Regions from separate parts of the Homo sapiens genome. Here all the other regions are linked to region 6. Evidence: promoter capture Hi-C in 16 types of primary human blood cells and fetal thymus (Javierre and others, 2016). All regions are on one chromosome and are shown on one strand. The core of a region is centred on a gene start or on the middle of the fragment in contact, and the rest is flanking DNA. Distances in the headings are between cores, read along the strand shown.

Region 1 (2,700 bases), core at 89-2,588, 290 kb after region 6:
GCTTCCTCTAACTTTGCACTTTTGAAGTGGATATTATAATTATCTCAATTTTACAGATGAAAAAACTAACAGACAGAGGGGTAAAGCTTTTTACTCAAGGTCATGCAACTATTAATAGTAGCGAGGATTTGAGCCTACAACCTACACTCTGAACTACTTTTTCATAGTGCCTCCTGTGTGAATAACAAAGAGAGAGAGAGGATAAAAGATATAAGAAAAGGCTGGGCACAGTGGCTCATGCCTGTAATCCCAGCACTTTGGGAGGTCATTGCGAGAGGATCGCTTGAGCTCAGGAGTTTGAGACCAGCCTGACCTGGTCTCTACTAGAAATAAAAAAAAATTAGCCAGGTGTGATGGCATGTGCCTGTAGTCTCATCTACTCAGGAGGCTGAGATGGAGAACTGCTTGAGCCAGGAGGTTGAGGCTTCAGTGAGCCATGGTCACGTCACTGTACTCCAGCTTGGGTGACAGAGCAAGACCCTGTCTCAAAAACAAAAAAAAAAAAAAGAAAGAAAGAAAGAAAAAACCCATAAAGAACAGAGGGATGAACATGTGTTCTTAAATGCTGAAGATATTTAGGGTGGCTTTCATAGAAAAACATCTTGTATTCCAATTCAGGTATTTAATCCATACAAATATTACAATAAATTTAATATGAACAGATAATAATTGTGCATGTTAAAATATTTGAGGCCTGAGTTAAGAATATATTAATTTACAAAGTTATTAATACATATAAGTACGCCTTATGGTCATTGAATATAGCAAAAGACTTGTCTAAGAAAACAAAAAACCCTTAGAGTCCTTGGGGACAATCTTATTGTCCCTTGCCTTTCCATTTTAATTACCATCATTAGTCTGTGAGCTCACCTGACTCTACCAAGGAGACTGACCTGTTCTTTCCTCTGTGATTCCATGGCAGTGAGTTGATATTTGATGAACTTAGGACATTGAGTGCTATTTATCTCCACATCTGTCTCTGCCACCTAAGTGAAAGTCTTTCAGGGCAGGAACATGTCAACTTCACGCTTATATCTCCAAACTTAGTTTCTGGAATTTAGTAGGTACTAAATGCATCTATACAGAATAAATACAAGCATGGATACTTGAATGAACAGATGCTCAGAGAGTTGCCTAAGGCTGGTGGGCCTAGCTCTCCTGATCCTTTCCCAAACTTCTATTAGGTCCATCCAACATTAAACAGGTAGGGTTCACTCTCTGCTCCTTTTCACCCCTTGCACCTGTTTCCTAGCTCCATTTATCTCCCTTTTTCCTTCTAGCTTGAGTTATCTGGGTCAATGAAGAGGAATGTGTCAGAAAACATAGAGGACAAAATTAACCAGAAAGGATGACTAAAGGAACAACTATAATAAAATATTACATTGAACAATTTTAAAAGAAAGGTACCAGAGAGATTTCCTGAAACTTATGCCTGCATAAATTATATTCTAATAATATCTCTTTGGAGCCACCAATCTCACACTTCTGAATTAGGTCCTTGAGAAAAATGTGACATTTGTAGAGAGCTTGACTCCATATTAACAAGTAGAGAAAGGCTGAGGCATCTTTAGGGTATACAAAATTAGTCATTATGAGTCCAAGATTCCAAATGAGGGGGGCCACTTAGTAGTCCCTTGAACCAAAGATAACATCTTTAAACCTTCTTCTCAACATATCATACTTGTTTATTTTCCATGAGGCATGTGGGAGAGTATTCATAATAACCATCAAACTGCCTGCAAAATCTGAGAGAGCCATGTGGCCAATTTAATTTTTAATCAGTCGCCTATTAAATTCATAATTATCCACAATGCAATAAAGCAACTGTTTAAGGCAGAATACTTGGAAGCAGAGGATGTTGATCAACTTATTCTTTTTTATGTGCTGAGAAGCCAAGGTGCATCTCACTGTCTGAGGAGAGACAGCCTGGGAATTAAAAAAGTCTGTCTTGGTCTACCCCTGCAACTGGCTGGATGAGCTCAGAGATAATTGAAGTAAATCAGAGGTTTACAGGGTACTTTTTAGACCTGCAATACTTTCAAATGAAGTATCTATGTGTGAAACAAATGCAACCAGACCTTCTCTAGTTGAAGTTTCTCCCCAACAGTCTCCACCCCTTAACCTGAGATTGCCAGAGGGGCACCAAAGGGTACTAAACCTTCCCTGCTCTGCAAGGCACAATGAGCATTCCATTGCCCAAGGTATTCCCCAAGTTAGCTCCAACGTCCTATGATTTATGTGAGCCAAAGGGTTTTCAATCCCATGTTGTGGGGGGGAGCATTTTAAAGCCCTCTACATGGGGAGGGGTACCTATTCTCTTTTGAAAGATTTTCTCTTCTTCAATTGTCCAATAGACCCCAATCCCTACTCCAAATAAGACATTGTAGATAATTCATTCACAAGAAATTCTTCTATTCTGCTACCATGCATCCTGCTCTGTCTCCAAATAGATGGCGTCATCTTTTTGTGAAGTAACCCCTTGCAAGGGGCACTTGGTCATTCCCTAATAAGCCTTCTCAGCTCTGAGATAACCATATTTGCTTTAACAACCTTTTTGTAAACACACAAGAAAGAACAATAATAAGCTTTAGGAGAAACCAGAAAAATGTTTAGGGTAGGAGAAAAAGTTACATTAAATGAACTATTCTACTGCAAAATTCTCCTGCTTTTTTTGAGCTTATTGGTGCAACCTGAGATGTC
Region 2 (2,700 bases), core at 159-2,658, 350 kb after region 6:
CGTTTTTTTGTAGTGGCAGGTAATGGTCTTTCCTTTCCATTTTTAGTGCTTCCTTCAGGACCTCTTCTAAAGCAGATCTGGTGGTAATGCATTCTCTCAGCATTTGCTTGTCTGAAAAGGATATTATTTCTTCCTTATGTATGAAGCTTAGTTTGGCCAGATATGAAATTCTGGGTTGAAAATTCTTTTTTATGTATGTTGAATGTAGGCTCCCAATCTCTTCTGGATTGTGGGATTTCTGCTGAGAGGTCCACTGTTAGTCTGATGGGCTTCCCCTTTGTAGGTGACCTGGCCTTTTTCTCTGCCTGCCCTTACCATTTTTTTCTTTCATTTTGACCTTGGAGAATCTGACGATTATGTGTCTTGGGAATGATCTTCTCATGGAGTATCTTACTGGGGTTCTCTGTATTTCCTGAAATTAATGTTGGCTTGTATTGCTAGGTTGGTGAAGTTCTCCTGGATGGTATGTTTTCCAAGTTGGTTCCATTCTTGTCTCTTTCAGGTACCCCAATCAGTCATAGATTCAGTCTCATTGCATAATCCCCTGTTTCTCAAATGTTTTGTTCATTTTTTTCACTCTGTTTTCTGTTTTTGTTGGCCTGTCTTATTTCAGAAAGACAATCTTCAAGCTCTGAGATTCTTGCCTCCACTTGGTCTATTCTGCTATTAAAGCTTGTGATTGCATTGTGAAGTTTTTGTAGTGTGTTTTTCAGCTCTATCAGATTGGTTATGTTCCTCTCTGTACTGGCTATTTAGGCTGTCAACTCCTGCATTGTTTTATCATGATTCTTAGCTTCTTTGCATTGGGTTACAATGTGCTCCTTTAGCTCAGTGAACTTCATTTTTATCCATATTCTGAAGGCTACTTCTGTCATTTCAGTGATCTCAGCCTTAGCCCAGATCTGAACCATTGCTGGGCAGGTGTTGAGATTATTTGGAGGAAAGGGAGCATTCTGGTTGTTGTTTTTTTTCTTTTTCTTTTTCTTTTTTTAAAGTTTTCAGTGTTTTTGTGCTAATTCTTTCTCATCTTTGTGGGCTTATCTGCCTTTGATCTTTGAGTTTGCTGACCTTTGGATGGTTTTTTTGTTTTGTTGTTGCTGTTGTGTTTTATTTGTTTTCTTTGAACGACTAGTCTGGGCACTCTTCTGTAGGGCTACTGTGGTTTGCTACGGGTCTACCCCAGACCCTAGTCACATTGGTTTTTCCAGTACCTGGAGGTATCATCAGTGAAGGTTGTGAAACAGCAAATATGGCCACCTGCCTATTCCTCTGAAAGCTCTGTCCCAGGGGGGTACTGACCTGTTGCTGGCCTGACCGTGCCTGTAGGAGGTGGTTGGAGATTCCAGTTGGAAGATCTCACCCAGTCAAGAGGAATGGAATCAGGGACCTGCTTAAAGATGCAGTCTGGCTGCATTTTGGTAGAGCAGCTGTGCTATGTTGGAGATCTCTTCAGCACCCAATTGATTTGGGCTCTTCAAGGCCCACAGCCTGAACTGGATGAGATGCCCAAACAGCAAATGTCTGCCTCACCCACTGGGCACTCTGTCCCAGGAAGAAATTAGAACTCTGTTGGCCATAGAACATGGGTGGGGCTGGCCAGAGGCCCTGGCTGGGAGGACCCTCCCAGTGAGGAGGAATGGATCTGGGTCTGTTTAAAGAAGCAGTCTGGTCATTCCTTAACAAAACAGCTGTGCTGGGGAACTGTGTTGTGGAACTGCCTCTGCTCTGTTCCGTTTGGACTTTCCAGTGCCTACAGGCTGGAAGGGCTGAGTCATCCAAACAACCAAGGTGATGGCCCACCCCTCCCACAAGGCACTCTGTCCCAAGGAGACATCAGAGTTCTGTCCATAGAATACAGCTGGTGGGGTGGCTGGAGGCCCCAGCTGTGAGGTCCTGCCCAGTGAAGAAGAACGGATCAGGGTTATGGCTATTGTTTTGGCTGGCTTCATAGTATTTCATTGAGTTATCTCATCCTATTTGCCATTTCTTATTACTGAACATATTTTTCACCCTCTTAATACCCTCTCACTCCTACTCATGTACACAGATTTATACATGTTTTCTCCCTGTCTCATCCCTTATATCTCCATCAAAAGCAAATGCTGTCCTGAATGTTTATAATTATTATTCACTTATAAAGCTTAAAATTTTATATCACATATTACGTCTAAGGCATATGGTGTTTATACTTGCTTTAAAATTTCATTAGAAAATATGCCATATGTTGTTATTTGGTATTTACTTTTTAATTCAACATAATGTTATTAAGATTCATTCATGCTGTTGTATATGGTTGCCATTCACTTGTTTTTCATTGCTCTTTAATATTATATTTTATTAGTATACTACAATTTATTTATCTGTCCTCCTGACTATGGCCATTTAGATTACTTAAAGTTTTTGCTATATGAACAGTGTTTCCTCCAAACATTTGTGTGCATATCTCATGCATAGATGTACTAATTTTGGAGGGATTTTTATATCTAGGAATAGAATTGTTGGATTGTAGGTATGCACATATTCAGCTTTGAAATACAATGCCAAAGGATGGTGGAAAGTGATGGTACCACCAGTAACATATAAGAAATTATGTTGAAAGGATGCTGGATAAATCCTATTCAATAGTTGGCAATATCAGATTTCTTAATTTTTGTAAACTGATTACATATAAAATGATTTTCTAATTCTAGTCTTCATTTA
Region 3 (2,882 bases), core at 141-2,640, 450 kb after region 6:
TATGTCGATACTGAGGGAGAGGAGTGGTGGTGGCAATGCCCGATGTTCTCCGCTGTAAAGAAGCAATCTGAGGTGCCCAGGGATGCTGAAGAGGTGGAGGGGTATACCCGGGTTGAGAAGAATTATTATTATGCCAATTGGAGTCCCATAAAGTAGGATCAGCATCAAAAAGAGGAAAAGGGTTCAAAGGGGATTTACCATGGGGTTCAGAATCACGGATGCAAGGGGCGGTAGTGGGGACAACAGACAGAAAAGTTTCCCCCTCCCATACTCAGAGTCTGGACATGACAATAGCCAATTTCCTATGTTCTGGGTGTTCTGGGCTCAGAATGGGGAATATCATATGAGGCCTCAGGTGGGGGGTAATGCCCTTATATTCCCATTTTAAGGGAAAGAATGAGCTGAACCTCCTACGCAAAGTAGGATGATGATCCTCGCCCTCCCAATAAGAAATAAAATAAGTACCCTCCAGGCATTCCCTTCTGCCAGAGGAGTAATTGTTTTTTAAATAGCCCTTTGGTGCCCAGCCTATTACTAAACCATATGGGTTTTTTTTAATACTGCTGCATGTGAGTTAACACAGTCTTCCCAAATTAAAGTTTTAGATGGGCCCTCAAAATTTTTAGGACATGGTTTTCCTACAGGTTTATATTGAAAGTATGGGGTATCTCCTATTACTCCCCTTTTTATTTGTCTTAAAGGAGAAAGGGAGAGGCCGGAGACCAAATGTCCTCCTTCCCTTGTAGCTAATCTCTCTGGAAGATAAGCAGACCAGACTTGAGTTTCTAGATGGATACAACCAGGTGCATGTCCGAGGCACAGAGGACGGTATTTATAACCCATAGTAACATTAAATGCAATGCCCTCTTCTCCTGGTTGAGCAGGGCAACGGTCATCTCTAGCTCCAGGCATCCACACACGATCGTTAGTATAGATTTCCTCAGGAGCATCCATCCAGGTGAAAGTTCGAATAAGTGGAGGAAAAGGCACATAAGCCCAATAAGAATAATTTTGTGTAGCAGGTAAATCAGTTTGAGGGGAAACTGGTGAGACAGAAAGTATAAGGAGGAGAATTATTAAATAAAACCAATTTAAGCAAGGTCCAGTGCTGAAGGAAGAAGAGAAGAACAGAGGGTTGTTATTTTCAGACTAATAGAAATGGCGAGATTTTTAGGTTCATAAGGAGAAAAAGAAAGGGAATTAGGAGAAGTGGGATTAGTTAGAGGGGTCTCCATTGCCATTAGGGAGGATTAAACCAGACCCATTTTGATTTGGCATGCCAGTTTCTGCAGAGTCGGCACAGATCTCACCAGGTATGATGGCGGTCTCTGACGCAGATGTCTTTTCCTTGTGGTTTTCATTGTCAGTATTTACAGGAAGTTTAAGTCTTCTAGTGGGCACCCAGACAGGGGATTGATGATCTCCAGGTGAAACACAAGCATACCCTCGTCCCCACATTAAAATTGTTCCAGGTTCCCAGGTATTGGTCTGGGAGTTTTTCCATAATACTGGCTTGCTTCCATTTAGGGAGAATTTTTTCCCTGTATAATGGCGTTCAGCTGCAGTCAGAGTATTGTCTTTAGGAACATTTAGAAAGTTTAAAGTAAACAATGCTAAATGTAATTGGGAGTGGGGAGTGGTTACATTATGCTTTTGTTGCTCAGACTGTTTGGACAATGGAGTTTTGAAAGTGCGATTGGCCCATTCCACCACAGCCTGTCTCTGAGGAAGTACTTTCTATTCATAATGAGCTGCAGGCTCCTGATTATTGATAATGGTACAGTAAAAGCAAATTTTTCACAATCCGATTTATGTAAAACAATATGAAAGAAACAGTCTTTAAGGTCAATCACTATGAGAGGCCAATTTTTAGGTATTAAAGCAGGGGCAGGCACGCCGGGTTGGACAGGTCCCATAGGTTTAATTACAGCATTAATGGCCCTTAAATCAGTTACCATCCTCCGCTCACCTGAATTTTTTTTTTTTTTTTTTTTTTTTTTTACTGGAAACACAGGAGAATTCCAGGACAAAAGAGACGGTTCCACATTTCCAACTTATAACTGTTCAGAAACCAATTGAGTTAAAGCCTCCAGTTTTTCTTTAGAGAGCAGCCACTGCTGAATCCAAACAGGTGTTTCAGATTTCCATTACAAAGTTACAGGATTAGGAGGCATGGCAGTGGCCGTCATTAAAAGGGATAACCTAAACCAGCCCTGTCTTCTTTTACAGTAACTTGAAGAGGTTTAGTAATTCCTTCATGTCTTGGACCGAGACCAAGTCTGGGAACAAACCCCATGTTTTCCATTATATGTTGACTGGGAACACTATAAGAGTTACATGGAATATTAATTTCAGCCCCCCACTGCGCCAGCAAATCTCTACCCCAAATATTAATGGGGGTTGGTGTGATATAAGGCTGAATTGTACCCTTTTGACCATCAGCACCAGTGCAAGGCAAGATAAATGTGCTCTGGTGAAATTCATCAGCTTTTCCAACACCTACTAGTCCCATGTTAGCGGGATGTTTAAGCCAGGAGGAAGGCCATAAATTAGAGGAAATAATAGAAACATCAGCCCCAGTATCTACTAGGCCGTCAAACTTTTTTCCTTGAATGTGTATGGTGCAGGTGGGCTGTTGTTTAGAAATTACATTAATCCTATAAGCAGCTTTTTCACTGCCGGAGCCCATCGCAGGGCCCCATGTCTTATCTCCTTTGTTTAAAATAATATTAGGTAGTAAAAGTAATTGAGCAATTGACTCACCGGCCAAAATGGAAACAGGAACTTTGGCAGACACCATAAGTTTAATCTCATCAGAGGAATCAGAATTAATGAGACCAGTATGAACTATGATACCGTCAGCAGAGGTGGATGCCCTGCCT
Region 4 (2,700 bases), core at 124-2,623, 370 kb after region 6:
GTGTTGATGGCGGGGGTGGGCTACAGATGCAGGAGGGGTTTCTCTAATTTATTTCCAACTGAGGAAATGTTATCTTCACTCTCAGATGCTGCATGTCTCAGGAAAACACTGGTCTGAAAAAGGGAGAGATTAATATAAGCATAGGTGTCATGTTTGACCTTTTCCTAAGACCTATAACAGCTTCACACTAGAAGGGATTTATTCAGTGTCTAAAGACATTTATTCAGCACCAACCATGTACTCTTTGAGGCAGCAGGACTCAAGGTCTGAAGTCTGTCTGGGCTCAATACTGGCTCATCTACTTTCTGCATGACTTTGGGTGAGTTATTTAACCTCTTTGTGCCTCAGTATCTTCATCTGTAAAGTGGGATAATAATAGTACCTAAGTAATTGTGTTGTTGGGAGGATTCAATGAGAAAATACATTTACTAGTTTAGAACAGTCCATACACATTGGAGGCAACCAACAAATATTAATATTATTGCTTAGTATTATTATACAATCATGGCAGTTGGTAAACATTTTTATGTAATTGCTAGGGAAAAAATGGAAAGGTCCTTGTATGATTGTTCTCTGAAAACCTTTTTAGTCCCTGTATTTAGGCAGACAATCCTGGTGAGCCTCTGTTGCAGCACTCTCCATTTCTACAAATGCCCATTCTAGTTCAGATCATATCATTTTTTTAACCACCTTCGTGATCATGGAAAACAAACTTAAACCACTTTAAATCTATATCATTTAGTCTTTTTTCTCCCTGCTCTTGCAACTATCACCTACCATATACATAACTGCTGTTTTCCTGACATTTTCCCACATACAAAAAAAGCCATAGTGGCTATTTGTTGTTCAGATCACAGCCCCGATTCATAGCCCATTAGTTGACGTTTAAACACAGTAGTGACATTAACTGGACAATACAGGCCTTCAACTACATCTAAACACATTTGAATCGGCCTCATCAATCTGCGTGGTCAGGATAACATGGGCACTGACCTTCAGTCCAGCATAAAGGAGACATGCTGGGCTGTGGGCTATGAATTGGGGCTAAATGAGTTGAAGCTCATCTTTACCTTGTTCCACCCCACCTAATCAACCCTTAGCCCTCTCCCAACAAGCAATGTCAGAACTCCTGCTTGTCTTCTCATGTCCTGCACTCATTTTGTTTTACGCCTTTGCTTATGATGCGAATGTGAAGATCCATTTCTCATCTTTCTTCCACCTGAGTCAGTATTTTCTTCCAGACCCTGCATGAAGACTTCCCTGATCCCCCTTCCTTTCCCCCAGCACTCACTGACTTTTCTTACTTTTCAGCAGCAGATACATGTTGATAAAGGCAGAAACTATTGGACAGCAATTGAGGCACCTGAATACAGGCATGGCATGACTAGCAAAGGGGTCAGAAGTTGCTATCACAAACAAATCACTGGAGCCTTCTCACTGTCTTGCAGACTCTCTCTGGCGTTCCCCTGTTAACACTAGAATCCAATGCCCCTATCAACTGCCGAATTTCTGATTTACTTTCTTCTAATCTCATCTAATGACATGTCTTCTGGGTTGATCCCCCACCATTTCTGACATGCTTACTCATAAATCAGTAGTTTTGTTGCATCCCCTGGTCAGTTGCTTCCTTTACCCTGTGCCCCTCAATGTCTGATCATCCACTTGCCGAAGATCAGTTATGTCTACCTGGGGTGCTGGCTGAGGGTTAGAGGCAGACTGGACCTAGTGTTTTACTCTAAGTATCCAGGAATAGAAAGACCCAGATAGTGAGGACCAGCTAAGTCCTTAGAAAGGGCTTAATATTAAAATCAACATCATCAGGTCTAAGGGTCATGTGCAGACATAACAATAGGAGGCAGAGCCAAAGGGACTGATGGGCAGTAAAACAGGAGGCAAGGCAAGTGGGTCACACAGGATCGTAAGCTCTGTAAGCAACAGGAGCCCTGTCTGTCTTGTTCATCACTGTATCCTGTACCTCAAAAGTCCCTGACACATTGTAGGCGCTCCATACTTATGAGTTTCATGAATAAGTGTCTTGGATGATTGCCACACCGGGTTGGCATCTCTTAGGCTACGTAACTCTTAGCCAAATCATAGCCAGTGAATTGAAAGGCACAGGGCTCTCTCCTCAAGGCGACGGAAACTCCTGAATTGTGTCTGTACAGCCCCACCCTGGATTCATCAGTTGTCTCTGATTGTTCCACATGGACTTGTCTCATCTTGCCACTTAGCTTGTCAGCCTGTCTTCCTTGAACTGCGCTGAGAATGCAGCTGGGACTCAGCAAACACGAATTGGTTCAGGTTGAATTGAGCTGGGCTTCCCTGGATAACTCTTACAGTTTGTTATGAGTTATTAAGTTCTCCTCCCCTCATTAAAGAATATTGCTTTCATGACCTTCAACATTTGTTTAAAAAATATCCTTTCATCGAGGAAAAAATAAGAATTGGATGCTTGCAGCCAGACATGCAGCTTCGTAATGATGACTGGATTATAAAGCTCATTACATCTTAGAATTCGGAATGAAACCACAGCCTTTGAAGTTGGTTTCCGTGACATACTTCATCTCACTTCCTTTCTTCAAAGAACATGCAAAGGTGAATCCTACCAGCTTCTGAGGCAGGAAGTCATCGTGTGATTTCACAATTACCCTCCAGTTTGCCAAGGCAAAATTTGGATTTTTCAATAGTAATTCAGTGATT
Region 5 (2,884 bases), core at 306-2,805, 390 kb after region 6:
CAAGGCCCCACGGGCCCCAGCTCCCCACAGGCATTGAGGGTAACTGGGGTAGGCTCCTGGAGCAGGTGGGCACCATGGCTTTGTGGGCCAGCCAAAGGGAAAAGGAGGTGCTTAGGAGGGAAAGGGCAGTGGAATGGCGGGAGAGGGCTGTGGAAAAAAGGGAGCGAGCCCTGGAGGAGGTGGAAAGGGCCATCCTGGAGATGAAGTGGAAGGTGAGGGCTGAGAAGGAGGCATGCCAGCGGGAGAAAGAGCTGCCTGCAGCAGTACATCCCTTCCATTTTGTTTAAATTGGGCTTGGAGAATCTATTCTGAAAACATTGACTCTAGACTTGTAGAAAAGAGCCATTTTAGTTTCAACTCAAATGTAAAGCAAAGTAGTTTGGTGACATTTTGCTTTTATGTGAAATAGTGCACAGTATGAGTTAATCTGAGCAGGTCTGAATTGACCAAATGCTTATCTACGAGGTTCCTAGAGCTCTGCTGACCCTTGGCCGAAACTCTAAAATGTACCTATTAAAGATAAATGCTTCTACCAAAGTAAAACTCTGTGAGTTGTTTCAGGGCAGAATGTACCAGCCAGTCAGCGTTGTTTAACAAAATAATCAGATTTTTGCCTAGCACTCGGTTTTGGTGGAGCTGACGATTTTGAGGGCTGAGGCTGGTTAGGTAGCTGGAATGTGCCTATGTGACCAGCTCACTTGCAGACACCCTGCCGGAAGCAGAGCTTAATCTTCCTAGGACTGAGGTCTTAGCACATGTACTGGTGGAGTTTCCAGACCACCAGTATGAATAAAAGCTTGTTCTGTGTGACCCAGCAAGTGGAAGGACAAAGAACTGTGAGCCTCAGATCTTTGGACCTTTCCAATGCGTCTCTTTCTCCTGTTATTGCTGCAATGTATTTTCTTGCTTATATTAAAGTTGTTTCATCAGTATAATCTGAGTCCGGTGTGTCTTTTTAACAACCTAATGCTTAAACTAATTAATGTGTAATTAGCACAGAGAAATGAAAAACCTCTCAACTTACTTAGTTTAAACATTCAGTATAGATTATATAAAACTTATTCATAAATAGTTAAAATATAATCTGATTTCATATTAAGGTTTGTCAAAGGAAAAGGAGTTAGTGAGGAAGAACTGAAAGAAATTCAGAATGAAAAGAAGGCAGAGATATAAAGGAAGTAAGGAGAAATAAAGAACAGAGGAAGGAAAGTTAGAAATAAATGGGATAGAGAAGAAATGCAAAGATGGGGAAGAGAGACAGTGCTCTAGGGAAAATTTATCATGAAAATGGAAGAGAACATGACTGTCTGAATGAGGGAAGGATGGAGTACATTTTCTTAGATCCTGAAGTTAATTTTAATGAGTTAACTTGATTTTGCTTTGTGCCTACAGACCAGTTATTTATTTGAACAGTAGGTTTTAGATTTTACTCATACCTCTGAAATGCTAACTGCATGCCAATCCACTGTTCACTGATTTTTAAAAACTGTTTACCTTTAAATGTTCAGAGATGCTTTGAAAAAAGAGATCCTAACAGTCTATAGGGAGAGAGTAATTTCCTGGGCTGCTGAAAGTATGCCTAAAATATTAATTTAGAAATAGAATAAAATCAAACTGGAAAGTACTCTGGCCTCTGCACTGGACCTGATATTTGTTATAGAAGACAGATTCCTCTATAACCACACCACCCTCCTCCAACCAAACACACACATTAAAAAACAAAACATAATGTGGGTTGGGAATGGGGATGGAGTGGGGAAAGAGCTTGGGAAGACAGGAATAGATAAAGACAGCATCCCATTATCTCAGAGATAGCCCAAGTACTTTGTGGGCACCAACCTCTCTGGAAGCAGAGGATGTCCTTGTGTAACAGTGGTGTCTTGCCTCCTTTGGCCCTGACCTATGTAGTTCACTCATATTCTTCCTAGACTTGCTAGGCAGCCCTCACTTCTAGACCTGTCTTCCCTAACAGCTGTTTGTAGAACAAACAAAAGTCCAGGCACCAGGCTTGTGAAATAACCAGGCCACACTGAAGTCCCGTCATGTTCTTTTTTTATCTAGAGATCTGCCTGATATTAAAGATTTCATTTGTCATGTGGTCTCCCCACAGAGGTATGATGCCCTTTTAGAACCTTCTCTACCTGTGGTGCAAGCTCAGGTGCTCACCAGTGCAAGTGACGACGGCTGGACATTTGGACTCAGAACCTTATTATGTTGCAAAAGATGCTAGGAAAAAAAAGGAGGCTGTAATACCTAATTATTTAAAAAATGAAAACCAAAACACATATTTTTGGAGTGGGGCTTAGGAAGCTTGAGGAAACCACAGGGTTCAAGCTTTGCAAAACCCAAACCAAATAAACACAAATAATCAAATTCTGCACAAAGATGCTGGAGCTCTGCTGATGCCAACCAGTGTGGTATTTAGGTTCTGGTGTCTTTTTTTTTTTTTTTTTTTTTTTTAAGATGGAGTCTCACTCTCTTGCCAGGCAGGAGTGCAGTGGCGCGATCTTGGCTCACTGCAACCTCCGCCTCCTGGGTTCAAGCAATTCTTCTGCCTAAGCCTCCTGAGTAGCTGGGACTACAGGTGCGTGCCACCACGCCCAGCTAATTTTTGTATTTTTAGCACAGACAAGGTTTCACCACGTTGGCCAGGATGGTCTGGATCTCTTGACCTCATGATCCGCGCACCTCGGCCTCCCAAAGTGTTGGGATTACAGGCGTGAGCCACTGCTTCTGGCCTCTGGTATCTGTTTTACATGGTTATTAATATTGTAGCCTCTCTTCCTTTGTAGGCAACTTAACCCCAAACTGCTTTTGTTTCCTATGTTTCATGACAGATAATTTTCTTTAGATTTTTTTTCCTAATTTATTTCAAACATAACAA
Region 6 (2,744 bases), core at 116-2,615:
AAGTTGATTTTTTAAAGATGTAACTGAAGGCCTTAAAGTTATCCTTTTTACATAAAAGCTTGTTTCAAAGTATAGAGAAATATGCCAAATTTAAAACTTTTGGTAAGGACCAGTTATGCTGATCCACTCATGTTCATTTCCCATCTACTCAGCTGAGCACTAAAAAAAATTCTCACTATCCTCTTCCAGAAATCACCTCTTAAAACATAATTTCCCCGAGATGATTATAATTTATTTAATGTAAGTTCTAAGTAGACAGATTCATATAATTATATTCATAAATCATCTTTGAACATAAGGATTAATTCAAAGCCTGGTGCATAAGTGCTCAATGAATAAGTGCTAACTAGATGAAATAATATTATACTCTGGTTAATGAATTGACATACTACATTTTACTAGGAGTATTTGCATGTGTAACATGCCTTTTGGTTGCGCACAATTAAATGCAAGTTAATCTGATTATAAAAGTTTAAAAACTGGATACAAAAATCTCCATACAAAAGATCTCTGCCGTGACATTAATTACCACTCCAAGCACCATGCATCATCTGACAGCTACGTGGCAATGGTGTGAACCACACACAAAGCCAAAAAAATAAAAGGATCTAATTCAAAGACTATATATACATATAAGAGGTTCTCTGATTTTTAGCCCAAATTCTAGTTTCCTTTGTGCAATAATGATTATGGTTCTTTCACTGAGTGGGTGCAGCAAGAAAGCAGAACTAGAAATTAGGCTTATGAGGGCGTCTACACTTTTACAAAGAACATGCCTCGCATTGTTAGGTTCCCTAAACTCAAAGGAGAGTCAGTCTAAGCATTTTAGGAGTCACAATCTACAAATTCCTAGAAGTAACTAATAATAATGCATTAAATGCACATTTTAATTTTTTCTAGTGTTGGCCTTTAATGCAGGGGAGGCAGGTAAGGAGCAGGAGCTCTTTAAACTGCACAGTGTAAAACGCCAGCGAGGGCCCGGGGTGCCCAGAATGCCGCAGGGCCGCGGCAGAGCTCTCCTCACAGCCTTCACCAGAAGTCTACAAAGCGCCTAGAACTGGGGTGTTGAGAAAGGGGGAGGAGCATTTTTGAACCGGGCGCCAAAGACGCACTGCACAGGCACGGTAACTGACGGAACCCGAGGCGTTCGAAAGAACGCATCCTACTCCCGCCTTTCGGACACTGACCTGGGAGCCACCGTGGCGCCCGCTGAGGTATCCGTGCAAGCAGCACGCTGAGGCCACGGTGGGGACCGAAGGGGACGGCTGCCCAGCCCCAGCTCCGACAAGGTACCCAGGCCGCCACAGCTGCCAAGCGCGCAACCGCCATCTTCGTAGTTGTCCCCGCACCCTGCAGTGTCCCACTGAGGGACACGCTACGCAACGGAACCGAGGCTGCGCATGCGCTTCAGGCTGGAAGGCGGAACTTGCTAAAGAGCTCCCCGCAAGATTTTCAGCTTGCGAAGAGCGCACATGCGCAGAGCGTCGTGGCTCTTTCGTTTAGACTGTTGGTTCTACTAGTAGCGGGGTTTGGCTTGGGGCCTTTAAGATGTTTTGAGTGGCGTCGGGAGGCTGCCCTATCAGCGGGCTGATAGATACTACAGAGCTGGAAGCTCAGAAAGGAACCCTATCCAACGGTCCTAGATGGGAAACGTCTCCTGTCGAGGACACCAGGCTTGCTGCATCACCTGCAATCCCGCCGACCGCGTGACAGTTTTAACCTGTACTGGAAATGCTCCCAAGATCTGACATTAATCTCGCCTGTATAACCTGGAATGGTATCGGACATTCCCCGCTCTAGATCTATATGCCTGATTAACGAAATACTGAATTATCTTGGCCCCCTCCTCGTGCTATATGCGAAAATAAATTTCAGTAAAAAAAGATTTCAACGGAAGAATACAACTGAGAGGATTAAATAAATTTTAGGAGAATATTATATAATCCGGGGACAGAAGGGACTTTCTTAACCAAGATTTCAAAACCCCAACATCATAAATAAAAAATATATTTGTATACGAATTTAAACTTTTTGAATGGCAAAAGACACCTCAAGTTAAGAGCTTAGAAAAATGGATTTTGTAGCATAGATACATTAATACTTCTACTCAGCCTGCTCCTATAAATAAGAAATATAATTCAAATAAAATTGGCCAACAGCTATAAATAGGCAGCCCATATAAGGAAACATGATGCTCAAACTCACTAAATGAAAAACTGGAATTAAAAAAATAATGCCTTTTTCCCCCCATTCAGTTGGCAAAAAAGAAAAATAATTGGCAAGGATGCTAGACACTAGCACTTATGTATGATTGCTAGGAAGGTGAATTACTAAAATTTGTTGTGAAGTAATATGGCCACATCTATTACAATTTTAAAATATGCATCCATTCCAGTGCCTTTTAACGCAGTGGCACCAATTTGTGATTATCCTATAGAAAAACAACACTAGTTCTTAAGACTGCATATTATCTACTACACCGTTTTTAGAGGCAAAGAGAAGGAAAAAAATGGGAATGGCTAACAATAGAAAAATAGTTGAATAAATTGTAGTACAAGGGTTTCCGGACTCCAGCTCTAAATACCTTTCAAACTAATTCCTGGGGGCCTCAAGCATCAACCATGGAGTTTTACGTAGTAGTTTCCTATTTAAAAGTTATGGTGGCTTGTGTAATACTTTGAGTATATATAAGATAGTAAAGTAACTTTTATTATCCTGGTTATAAATTTGGGGGGCAGTAATTG
Region 7 (2,806 bases), core at 204-2,703, 330 kb after region 6:
CATGTGCAGTCAAGGATAAGCATACTGCAAGTGAACTAAAGTTTCCTTTTGGGACTAAAGTCCACACAGAATTTGCCTATCACTCTATCTGTCAACAACATCTGTTTTTCCCTCCTGGAGCAGGGAGTGTGGGAAGGTTTCAAGCGACAAGGAGGATTAGTAATTTATTCATTCACAAACTATTGCTGAATACAGAGCACGTCTGGCTGACTAGGTTTCTTCTCTGACACCTATACATTCTGCTTCAACTGCTTTAAAAAAGATTGGTAGGAGCAGGGTTAATTAATCAGTGCTGGTCTGATTTGAGGCTCTTTATCTTTTTCAAAACAGATCAAAACAGGCAGATTAAATGAACAGGTAAATCCCCAGATGAAAAAGAGAATAACTGGAATTAGAAAGTAGGGTTGGGCTTAGGCTGCCTGTTTACTTACAAAACAGTTTGGTTCCAGTTTGATGGACATACACACGAAGGCACTCAAATGAAACCACTCTTGGCTAATATAATTTTAGAGGCCAGTGGAGTTTTGTATCTTCTAGGCTACTGGGTTTTTGGCTAATTATCTCTTTGATCCCTCTTCATCCTGGTCCATGTGGCAGGAGTCTGGGCTGAACATGGTAGGAAGACAGTGAAGGAGGATTGAAAATGTGGTTCCTGTGCAAAGTATTCTGTTTCCTTCCATGAAAATAAGCAACAGAATTTCAATATGAAGACTAACCATACTTCTCCATTACTTGGCAGCCTTGTTAGCACTTTTACATTTTCTTTTTCCTGTAATTATCTTAGGGAATGCAGCAAAGCCCCAGGATTTTGGCAAAGAGTTTACAATGTTGATAGATGTTCAAATAAGAGGATCAGGCATGGGCATACAGTTGAAACCATTGTTGTCCCTCCATCAGAGAATTTAAATGAAAATACTGTATTTTTTTTTAAAGATGGCAGACTAATATGTACTTCTTACATAAGCAAGAAAACCACTACGAATTGCATTGAGTGTGAACATGACATATCCTCTCACTCTTGGTTAAGCTTCAGGCGTTTGGAGATGGAAGAGGGTGAGTTGCTGGGAAAACAGGTCACTCACTTCTGACTTCCATTTCAGCTGCAGCAAAGGCATGGCTGAAGAGCGACTATATTAATAAAGCACAATGTCTACCTTCTCAATAGGATTCCAGCAGAGTTCTGCCATGGGGCAAAGTCTCACGAGACTAGAGGGTCTCCATCTCATGATAAGGCAGATCACTTTCGTTGGGCTCTTGAATGCAAGTGTACTTGATGGGAGGTGGTGGTGGCTTGAAAGGTGGAGGTCTTTCCATTCTAGGAACAAAATATTGGTCTTTCAATGCTAAGAATTGAGGGAGTCTTATGCACACACACACACAGACATGTGTTGTTTCTTTAAAGGAGAACACAGATTGATGAGAAAGAGACATACTCTCCCAGTTCTTTCAGCATTTTTGCTGGCATAACCCTGTGCCTGTTAGTCACATTTGAACCTCATGATCTATACGGTATTTTGTAGTTTGCAAAGAATTTTTATCATAACATTATTTACTTTGTATGTAGAAATTGCCTCACCATCTACAGATAAAACTGAGCATTTTTATCATAACATTATTTACTTTGTGTGCAGGAAATGTATCATAACATTATTTACTTTGTGTGCAGGAAATGCATCACCATTCTACAGATAAAACTGAGGCTCAGAGGTTTTAAACAACTTGCTCAAGAGAACCAGACCAACAATTCAAGTCTTTTCACCAGAACTGATACTCTCCATGACAACTGCCTCCTAATAGAAGAAATGTTTCTTTTATGTGGATTAAAATATTCCTCCAGAGACTAAATCTTAAAATCCTAGGATTTAAGACTGAAGCTTTTCATACAGCCTCTTTGCTAACCCTAGCCCCAGCCTTTGCCCAAACACTCACTATGTACTGCGGGGATAGGGTAGAGATGGGAAGTAAAGCTCTTCTCAATCCCCGAGTACTGGCTAGATAATGCCTAAATCCCTTTTGTTTGAATCAGTGAACATTCTTAAAGTCATCTTTGTACAAAGAACTATTTTATGTTAGTACAAGTAATCTCTTTTTCCGAAATGCATTAAAGAGCCAAGTTAGTATGGAATTTAGCTATACAAATGCTCTAGCTATCTTGATATCAGGCAACAGAAATATATCTGTGAACATCTTTATGTTCATCACTCAAACACCTCTATGCCCTGGCAATCCATAGCATCTTAGGAGAGATAAAGAGTGGGTAGTGGGGGAAGGAGGATAGAGAGATTGATTCTCATCTCCATATAAAACAAACATTTGAATACAGAACAATTTAAAAAATCAGTTCAGATTTTCAGATTTCATTTGTTCATTTAATATAAAGCTCTCTAATCCCTATTACCCAATTTTTAGATGCTTTAATGGAGACTTCATATGTATTAATAGGTAATTCTACGAAACATGCACTTTTGTTTTACTTTTGTTTTTTGGGGAATTATGAGTTTCTCAAGGTCATGTGGTGGCCAAATTGTAGTCCTTGGAAAATAATCCAGAATTTCTAACTACTGGTTTAGTGTTTTGTTCACCACTCCCTGTATGTGGTTACAGAGTCTTCAAGGATACTCTGCAAAAGGTAGGAAAGTATATGGCACAATGGTTAATGTTATCTTAGAGTAGTAGTAAGACAAGTGGAAGATCAGTTCTGGGTACTGGGGTCCCTTCCAGTTATGGCCCAACCCAGACTGACTCAAAATAGCAAGTCAGAAAAATGAGGCTTAACCTTATGTACCATTTCAGACTGCCGATTGGA

What was found. The method cuts DNA at HindIII sites, captures the fragments that hold promoters and counts their contacts. A CHiCAGO score of 5 or more calls a contact.
Region 1: a contact is called between a fragment that was not itself captured here and the fragment with the promoter of ABHD10 in region 6, in 17 of 17 cell types (naive B cells, naive CD8 T cells, total B cells and 14 more). The highest score is 13.6, in naive B cells.
Region 2: a fragment that was not itself captured here is called in contact with the fragment with the promoter of ABHD10 in region 6 in 1 of 17 cell types (naive CD4 T cells); the score reaches 5.0 in naive CD4 T cells.
Region 3: a fragment that was not itself captured here is called in contact with the fragment with the promoter of ABHD10 in region 6 in 1 of 17 cell types (M2 macrophages); the score reaches 6.5 in M2 macrophages.
Region 4: a contact is called between a fragment that was not itself captured here and the fragment with the promoter of ABHD10 in region 6, in 6 of 17 cell types (activated CD4 T cells, total B cells, naive CD8 T cells and 3 more). The highest score is 7.1, in activated CD4 T cells.
Region 5: a fragment that was not itself captured here is called in contact with the fragment with the promoter of ABHD10 in region 6 in 6 of 17 cell types (activated CD4 T cells, naive B cells, total CD8 T cells and 3 more); the score reaches 6.8 in activated CD4 T cells.
Region 7: a contact is called between a fragment that was not itself captured here and the fragment with the promoter of ABHD10 in region 6, in 8 of 17 cell types (monocytes, total B cells, naive B cells and 5 more). The highest score is 7.2, in monocytes.

What each region holds. Positions count from the first base shown.
Region 1 is chr3:111,685,492-111,688,191 of GRCh38, reverse strand. All of the region lies in intron 1 of PLCXD2 (phosphatidylinositol specific phospholipase C X domain containing 2), which reads right to left. Among named protein-coding and RNA genes, the nearest start is that of PLCXD2-AS1, 9.4 kb to the right of the region's middle. The HindIII fragment of the contact is 2,499 bases long and covers 89-2,587 here.
Region 2 is chr3:111,626,362-111,629,061 of GRCh38, reverse strand. All of the region lies in intron 10 of CD96 (CD96 molecule), which reads right to left. Among named protein-coding and RNA genes, the nearest start is that of ZBED2, 32 kb to the right of the region's middle. The HindIII fragment of the contact is 1,468 bases long and covers 675-2,142 here.
Region 3 is chr3:111,525,604-111,528,485 of GRCh38, reverse strand. The region is part of intron 2 of LOC105374039 (a long non-coding RNA gene); the gene reads right to left. Among named protein-coding and RNA genes, the nearest start is that of CD96, 15 kb to the left of the region's middle. The HindIII fragment of the contact is 8,676 bases long and covers 1-2,882 here.
Region 4 is chr3:111,610,237-111,612,936 of GRCh38, reverse strand. All of the region lies in intron 8 of CD96 (CD96 molecule), which reads right to left. Among named protein-coding and RNA genes, the nearest start is that of ZBED2, 16 kb to the right of the region's middle. RefSeq lists a silencer at 2,458-2,507 and an enhancer at 1,900-2,700. The HindIII fragment of the contact is 7,617 bases long and covers 1-2,700 here.
Region 5 is chr3:111,590,948-111,593,831 of GRCh38, reverse strand. All of the region lies in intron 5 of CD96 (CD96 molecule), which reads right to left. It overlaps ZBED2 (zinc finger BED-type containing 2), which reads left to right. Exons shown (of 2, transcript NM_024508.5): 2 at 1-932. The coding sequence ends at 287. Among named protein-coding and RNA genes, the nearest start is that of ZBED2, 3.0 kb to the left of the region's middle. The HindIII fragment of the contact is 1,514 bases long and covers 799-2,312 here.
Region 6 is chr3:111,977,647-111,980,390 of GRCh38, reverse strand. It overlaps ABHD10 (abhydrolase domain containing 10, depalmitoylase), which reads right to left and starts at 1,365. Exons shown (of 5, transcript NM_018394.4): 1 at 1,188-1,365. The coding sequence starts at 1,329. RefSeq lists enhancers at 1,126-1,175, 1,196-1,245, 1,256-1,305, 1,164-1,723. The HindIII fragment of the contact is 3,690 bases long and covers 61-2,744 here.
Region 7 is chr3:111,648,207-111,651,012 of GRCh38, reverse strand. CD96 (CD96 molecule) reads right to left here. Exons shown (of 14, transcript NM_005816.5): 14 at 1-1,315. The coding sequence ends at 1,207. Among named protein-coding and RNA genes, the nearest start is that of PLCXD2, 25 kb to the left of the region's middle. The HindIII fragment of the contact is 847 bases long and covers 1,030-1,876 here.